2 separate regions of the Homo sapiens genome follow, and region 1 is linked to region 2. Evidence: promoter capture Hi-C in 16 types of primary human blood cells and fetal thymus (Javierre and others, 2016). All regions are on one chromosome and are shown on one strand. Each heading gives the region's core, a stretch centred on a gene start or on the middle of the fragment in contact. The rest is flanking DNA. Distances are from core to core; before and after follow the strand shown.

Region 1 (3,775 bases), core at 187-2,686, 1.2 Mb before region 2:
CCTGATGATCTGAGGTGGGTCAGTTTCATCCAGAACCATGCCTGCCAACCCCCTGCCCTTTTCCGTGGAAAAATTGTCTTCCACAAAACCAGTCCCTCATGCCAAAAAGATTGGGGACCACTGGACTACAGTATTCAGTACAATAACATGCTGTAAGTTTTGTAGCCTAGGAGCAATAGGCTATGTCATATAGCCTAGGTGTGTAGTAGGCTATACCACTTAGATTTGTGTAAGTACAAGCTGTGATGTTCTCAACCACAAATTGCCTAATGACATTTCTCAGAATGTATTTCTGTCATTAGGTGACACATGACTGTACAATAAACTTGTGGTAAATGAATGACACCTGCTTTCCTGTAACTCATGTTACAGGCCTCCAAGTATTTGAAGACTGTTGTGTCCCTCCTTTAATCTTTTCAAGTTAAATACTTTTGAAATACTTTTGATTTCTTGCATTCTTCCTCCATTTTGTATGGTTTGCAAGTCCCTAATCACTTTAAATGTTCTATTTTGGGTGTGCCCTAGTTATAGATATTTTTTAGGCCAGATCGGGAGATCACACCCCAGATGATATCTCTGTGCAATGCAGAATATTGCCTCCCTCATTACAAAGTATACAAGGTATAGGCTAAAAAACCATAACAATGAGGACCAATGTGCAGTGGCTAGAACAAAAGTTTGTCTCTTGTTTAGCAGTCCCGAGGTAAGCAACTCTGTTCCTTGTTGTCATCCAGGATGCTAGTTTCCTTCTGTCTTTAATTTTTGTCGTTCCTACTGGTGTTGTCATGTGCATGATTGAGACTAGCTCTTTACCACTCTGTGTTGCAGCCCTCAAAAGAGAAAAAGGAAGTGGAGGGCAAGCCACTTCCTTATAAAGGTATGCCCTGAAGATTGCATATGTAACTTATGTGACTGTCTCATTGGCCCAAACTTAGGCACAGGCCGCATTTAGCTGTCAGGGAGCCTAGCTTATTGGCCATATGCCCAGGAAATTTTCTTACTAAAAAGAAGGAATACTTTGCTTGTTTGGCATTAGTTTCCTACAGTTGGTGAATGTTTTTTTGTTTTATCTATTTTTTTCTCTCTTTTTTTTTTTCTTGTCAGCCTTTTCAGGTTGAAAGTTGGTGCATGTTGAATTTGTGGTCATAACTGCTGTTCATTGTTATGCTGTTAATTATTTAAATGTATCACAAACATTTGCATTTATTAAATTTTTAAATGCAAGTGATAGACTGGTAATCAGCAGTTCTTCTTCTCCCCCTCCACCCCTTTTTTTTCTTTTTGCCAGAGTTTGTGGTTGATTACTTCATTTCTAGCCTTAACATACAGAAATTCAACAAATATTTATGACTACATACCAGGCACTTTGTATTACAGATATATAATATTGAATAATACAGATTGTTCTCTTTCACAAAGTTTGTATTCAAACATATTGCTTGATTTCTTTTGTGAGTGGTTTAAATTGGGGGTTGGCAAACTTTTTCTATTAAGGACCAGATAGTATTTTCTGCCCTGTGGCCTAAAATTTATGTAAATAATTCAAACAACCCAATAACAACAACAACGAAATAATCTGATTTAAAAGTGGGCAAAAGACCTAAATAGACATTCTGAAATTTGAAGACATACAACAGGTATATGAAAAAATGTTCAACATAATTCATCATCAGGGAAATGGAAGTCAGAACTACAATTAGATATCACCTCACCCCAGTTCTGGCTGTTAACAAAAAGACAAAAAATAAATGCTGGTGAGGATATGGAAAAAGGAGAACTTTTATACAGTTAATGTCAATCTAAATTAGTACAGACATTATGGTCAACAGTGTGGATGTTCCTTAAAAAATTAAAAATAGAACGACCACATGACCAAGCAATTCCACTTCTTGGTATATGTCCAACTCAAGGAAATTTAATCAGTATGTTGAAGATCTGCATTTCCATGTTTATTGCAGCACTATTCATAACAGCCAGTTTGTTTTTCTTAAAAAATAGTTGTCCTTGACCATTTTTGAAACGTTATTCTTACATCATTTTAATTGCATTACTTCTTAACTCATCCTTTCACAATTTCTTTAGCTAACTCTTCCTCCTGTCTGTCAAATATCTGTTTTCCTTTAAGTGCAGTTCTTGGTTCTGTCTCTTTCTATTCTTTCTCTCAAGTCTTAGTCACTTAAAAAATTATATGTTATAGACAATTTCCAAATCTATGCATCTATTCCTTACCTTTTTTGATCTAGTTATAACTCCAAATCTAACTTACCTAAAATCTGTAAATGTTATGTACTTTCGTTCTTTGAGCTTGAAACCTTATTTTGAGTCATTTTATACCATCAAGGAAATATAGGAGTTGTAAAGGTGGACAATAACATGTGAAAACTTGTGGAGGCAGCAGAAATTATTTAGAATTTGCGAAATGTATATTTAGAATGTGGCAAATGTGGAGAATGTGGCAAATCTTGGTCTGTTATTCCCTTGGAATAATAGATCAGGAGGGGCTTTGTCTTCCTTAAAAAGGATTTTCTAGTTTGATGCTACAGGTAATATGGAGCTACTAAAGGATTTAAAATGGGAAGGTTGAATGATAAGATGTTTTTTCCTAGATTATTTGTAGCAGTATGTAGGATGGCTCTTGGGGATAGGAATCCTGAAGCAAGGATACTGGTTAAGAGGTTTTACAATTAGGTGAGAAATGATAATTTCCTGAATTAAGGCAGTGGTACTGCAGATTTAGTTAGAAGGATAGATTTTGATTTAAGTGATGAGGAAGAGGGATTTATCAATTCCTGATTTAGGACCTGAGAAAATGAATATTATTAACCGGCGAAGTACATACAGAAGGAGAAAAAGAAGGTTTGGGAGGGGAAGGGAACCTTACAAAAAAACGAGCTCTGTTTTGTAGGTATTAAATTTGAGGGTGTCTGTGGGCTGCCCAGGAGGCATTTGTATGTTAAGATCTGAATCTGAGGCAGAGTTTTAAGTTAGAGATGTAGATATGGAATGTAGTAGGGTACAGGTGGTAGTTAAATCTGTAGTATAATTGAAACCACCCACAGATAATATGTGGAATGAAAACTGGGCCAACTCTGCAACAACCACGTTTTGGAGAGGAGGAAGCCTGGAAAGGGAAATCAAGAAAGCAGGTGATTGCAAAGCATTCCTTGAATTTGGTTGTGAAGAGGTCATCAGTGATTTGTTTCAGGGGAGTGGTATGGGCAGAAGCCTGATTGCAATGATATGAGATGTGAATAAAAGGTGAGGTGAGGCAATAGAGACAGGTACTACAGACTAGTATTACAGAAGTAGGATTCTTATGTGAAAAAGGTATATATATCTTGGTGCTTTTGATGGCAAGTTGCAGGATAGTCAATTTTAAAATGGGCTTAAATGATGAAAGAGATTTATTGGCCTATGGAATGGAAAAGTCCAGAGGTGGGATGGATAGTTTGAATGTTTCAGGCCTGGGGTTTGCAGGCAGGGCTGGTGGAAGGACTGGGATAGAGGATGAGAGTGTGTTTATGAGAGAGGGATAAACCTTGAGGTTTAGACTAGATATGGAAGCAGCTGAAAGAAGGAGGGGACTGATACTGAGAAAAAAACGTAGGTCACAGAAAGCTAGAGGTCTAATTTCATGTAAGTAAAGGAATGAAAACAGGAAGGTTGTGGTTTACTAATAAGGGCTTTCTCTAGCTAGGCTAAGTTAGCTACAGTTATCCAAATAGGCTTTATACATTGCAGCTTTCAAAATCCAGTCCTAGTATTTTGTAGCATA
Region 2 (4,177 bases), core at 1,044-3,543:
CAAGAAATACAAAAATTAGCTGGACTTGGTGGCGGGTGCCTGTAATCCCAGCTACTCGGGAAGCTGAGGCAGGAGAATAATTTGAACCAGGGAGGCGGAAGTTGCAGTGAGCCGAGCGAGACTCCGTCTCAAAAAAAAAAAAAAATTGTTTAGTTGTATTGTAACAGGATTTTTGCTTAATTTTATTTGAATAGTAACTATTTGCCTTAGAACAATTTATTATAGATCGATTTCCAGCATAGGCTTATACATAAATGTTTTTGTCCTAAATCTTAAACATGTATGAAGATCAGTTTCCAAATAAGAGAAAATCTAACGCTGTTGTCAATGGCTTGTTAAACATTTCAAAATGGCATGCCATATCTACATATATCAAGTTATTCCGTACAGAGGACTTATGGATCATAACAGTCCCCTTCCCATCCCAACTTCTTATTGAAAAAAACACCCAGGTAGATTTACAGAGCACTCAAGGGGACACATTTTCTAATAGCCACAGTGGGAGACAAATGTCATAATTCTTGTCCAATAAGTTGCCTTGTGAGGTCATTCTAAGTTCTACGTGCCCTAAAACCATGTACTTACTGAAAAGCCTGACAAACTGTTATGAAACTGTGCAACTGTCAGAAGAAAAGTTATTCCACCTTAGAATGTGCTCTTGTATTTAAGACCCTTTTCAAGAAATGAGCATACAAAATGCACACTGACAAATTCAACTGATCAAAGACTCCACAGTGGAGCATCAAAGAAGGCAGGATGCTTTGTTCAGTCTTGAACGTGTTAACATAAGGTTTATTATGTGTTACAGAAAACCTTTCTGGAGGTTAAGAAAATCCATCAGCTATTCTAGATTTGTTAACAAGAAACAAAATTTTCAAAAATTATCGTTAAAAGGGATGTGTCTATAGGGAAAGACTGGTGTTCAAATTCTGAAGCAAATGCCCTGAGGCTCACAGATTTATTATAGCGAATCAGACAGGCGACAGTACAGGAGAAAAGTAGTGCATGTGTAGGGAGATGGACAACATTTGGGACCTCTCCTTGTCGAAGAGTCGTGACAGCAAAATCACTTCCTGAGGAAGGAGGAGCAAAAGGGAAGTTAAGAGGCCATCCTGACCAGGAAGTGACTCGCCCTAAACTAACCCCAATTATATCTACAAATGGGGGGATGGGGTGAGCCCCAACTGCTAAAGGCGGTAAAATAACTGCTTTTTGATATGTCGCAACATAACCACCACCCTCTCGCAAAATTACAGAAAAAAGTCCACAGTCACGATCCAATAAAGGAAACGTCTGTTCCCTTGCAGGGAGGCCCCTGGGCTGTGCCTCAGGCCTGAGAGAAAAGGAGAGTCGAGGAACGAGGAACTGGGGCCACCGTGAGGCAGAGGAAAGCCCCCTAAGAGGGAAGCGTCCCGACTGCGGAGAGCGTATGTCAGCATGGACCAAGAAGCTTCTTTTTCCTGGGGACACTGCTAGGCTCCCAACGCAGCCGGGCCGGGCCCCAGTTCCCTGTCGGGGGAGGAGGTAAGAGAGAGAGGCGGACCCCTTACCTTCTCCTCATCCGACACACGATCATCGAAGTCGGCCATCTTGGGCTGTTCTGGCCCAGCCCGGCTACGGGCGCGAGGCAGGCCGGGAAGAAAGCCGAGTGATGGAATCACCGCGGCGGCCGTCGGAAGGACCCGCCCGGAAACGCCGACCAAGAGGGCCCCATGTCAGTTATGCGCGGGAGTGACGTCTCCTAACGCCAGCGCCCGCGCCCGCGCCCCAGGAAGTAGGGTTTGCCTTAGGTGATTTGAAGTCTAATATCTTTCCCAATGAGTTACACTCATTTCCCATCCATCTAATGGGCGCTGGCAGCGTGTTTCGATTATTCTTGGCTTCTGGCCTCCATCCGACCAAATAGCTGTTGCTACTCCTACAAGTTTTTCTGGTGCCCGTTATCTCCACGACAGCCGAATCCAAAGCTTTAAGAGCTGCTCGGCAGCTGGAACGATCGGTGGCTTTTCCAACCCCGGGGGGGGGGCGGTGTGAAAGGTGACCCTCATTTCGTTTGGAAGCGGTAACACTTCGGGGTCACATCTCAGTCCAGTTCCTCCAGAATAGGCGCTGCTGTCCGCCCCTTCCCTGCCCCACGAAAGAACAGGTAGCCCCAATCTTGAGACACGCTCCTCCACCTTCGAAATCTTCTCGGTCCCGGTTCCCCAGGACTCAGCCTTCACAGAGGCCAACTTCAGGTCCGCCACTATCCCAGGATTCCCGACTCCCGGTTTCCTGTCCTTCTCCCCTCCCAGCTCCTGGCGCCTGCGATAGCGGCAAGATGGCGGACCGTGGCGGCGTGGGTGAAGCCGCAGCTGTTGGAGCGTCTCCTGCATCTGTCCCTGGCCTAAACCCGACGCTAGGCTGGAGGGAGCGACTGCGGGCCGGGCTGGCGGGGACTGGGGCCTCGTTGTGGTTCGTGGCGGGGCTGGGGCTGCTTTACGCCCTGAGGATCCCTTTGAGGCTGTGTGAGAATTTGGCAGCGGGTGAGAGGACCAGACCTCCTGGGGCAGGGCGGGGGGCCAGGAGAGATGTCGGGGGCAAGAGCCAAAGGGCAAGAGATTCTCGGTAGTCCTAGAGGGCCTCTGAGGAGTCGATGATGAGCGATCAAGTGAGTTCTTTTTCTTTTGGGCTGCAACCTTGCAGTTGATTGACAAGCCTGCTGCCGTTACCGGCTCCTCCGTAGAACTCTTAAGGTCCGCCCTCTCTCTTATGTCCTCGTTTTTCCATGGAAAAGCCACCTGACAAGCTATAAGCTTCAGGTATTAGGACAGAAGAGTGTCTCAGATTAGGATACGTAATTTATATTGGCTCCCCCACCTCTGGTAGGATCCCTTAAAAGTCACTACTTTGAGTCTCCCGCTGCCCAGCTGAAAGAACTCATATCCAGGCAACAAAGATGAGCACATCTGTAATTTAAAGATTTCAGAGAAAGAAAATGGCATGATTTTAATTGAGGATTCTCTTGTTTTAAAATAGTTCTGTTAAGAAATCGTTTTCGTGATAGTTTTGTCTGTTCTTTTAGGCTTATCTTGAGTAATAAAATAGTACAGGAAGTGAGAGCGCCACAAACAACAGTGGGTTTGCTAGTTCTTTCGACGTCTGTAGAACACTTGCTACGTATTCTGTGCTGACAATACGAACACATGTAAGAAGTGATGATCCTGATGGATTCTCATATACTGTACTATTCTTTAGCTGTAGACAGGATGAAGTGTTTAGGGCCCAGGTCCCCTTACCATGTGATTATATTTCACTCAAGATCTGAGCAGCAACCTCAGAACAAGATATAAGTATTTCCATTACATGATTCAGTATGGTGGTTGATTTTTCTGAAGCAAAAGGCAGCAAATGTCCCCTTTCCTGTTCAGAGATGACATGAAAGACTGTGAGTTAATGTTCGGAAATATTTTGGTTTTTTTGGAGGATAGGTATCAAGTTCAAATATAACTAGCACTCTAAAATAAGCTAAACTGAAGAGCTAATTTGGCATCTCTGTAACAGGTGAATGAAGTGCTTAACGGTGGTTTCTATGCACAGTGTTACTGATTGACTTGTCATTTATTTTTCTACGTTAACCATATGCAACATTTAGATGAGAATAGTTGATTACTATAGATTTTTCTTTTTTACGTTTCGTGTGTGTGTGTGTGTGTGTGTGTGTGTGTGTGTGTGTGAGAGAGAGAAAGACAGACAGAGTCTCCCTTTGTCACCCAGGCTGAAGTGTAGTGGCAAGATCACTGCAGCCTTGAACTCTTCTGCTTAAGCGATCCTCTGGCCTCAGCCTCCCAAGTAGCTGGGACTGCAGGCGTGCACCACCACGACTGGCTGAGTTTTAAATTTTGCGTAGAGACTGGGTCTATTTTATTTGCCCAGGCTGGTCTTGAACTTCTGGCTACCAGTGATCCTCCTGCCTTGGCCTCCCAAAACTCTGAGATTATGGGAGTGAGCCATCCTACCTGGCCAGATTTTTATTTTCTTTCTAAAACCCACAGTACTTATGAGATAATTATTTGAAGTGAAAAATCTGCTCCAGGATTTCAGTAACTCAGGGAGATTTCTGTTTGTTGCTTTTCTCTTTGAGCCATTTTGCCTCTCTAGCTGATATACCAAATACATATGCTGTTTCCTTCCCTCT

What was found. The method cuts DNA at HindIII sites, captures the fragments that hold promoters and counts their contacts. A CHiCAGO score of 5 or more calls a contact.
Region 1: a contact is called between a fragment that was not itself captured here and the fragment with the promoter of ST7L in region 2, in 1 of 17 cell types (naive CD4 T cells). The highest score is 6.9, in naive CD4 T cells.

Annotation. Positions count from the first base shown.
Region 1 is chr1:113,780,779-113,784,553 of GRCh38, reverse strand. The region is part of intron 2 of RSBN1 (round spermatid basic protein 1); the gene reads left to right. Among named protein-coding and RNA genes, the nearest start is that of PHTF1, 23 kb to the right of the region's middle. RefSeq lists a silencer at 3,574-3,683. The HindIII fragment of the contact is 4,937 bases long and covers 1-3,775 here.
Region 2 is chr1:112,617,257-112,621,433 of GRCh38, reverse strand. ST7L (suppression of tumorigenicity 7 like) reads left to right here and starts at 2,293. Exons shown (of 15, transcript NM_017744.5): 1 at 2,293-2,525. The coding sequence starts at 2,321. It overlaps CAPZA1 (capping actin protein of muscle Z-line subunit alpha 1), which reads right to left and starts at 1,602. Exons shown (of 10, transcript NM_006135.3): 1 at 1,551-1,602. The coding sequence starts at 1,589. RefSeq lists enhancers at 1,320-1,769, 922-2,121, 2,230-2,329. The HindIII fragment of the contact is 828 bases long and covers 1,970-2,797 here.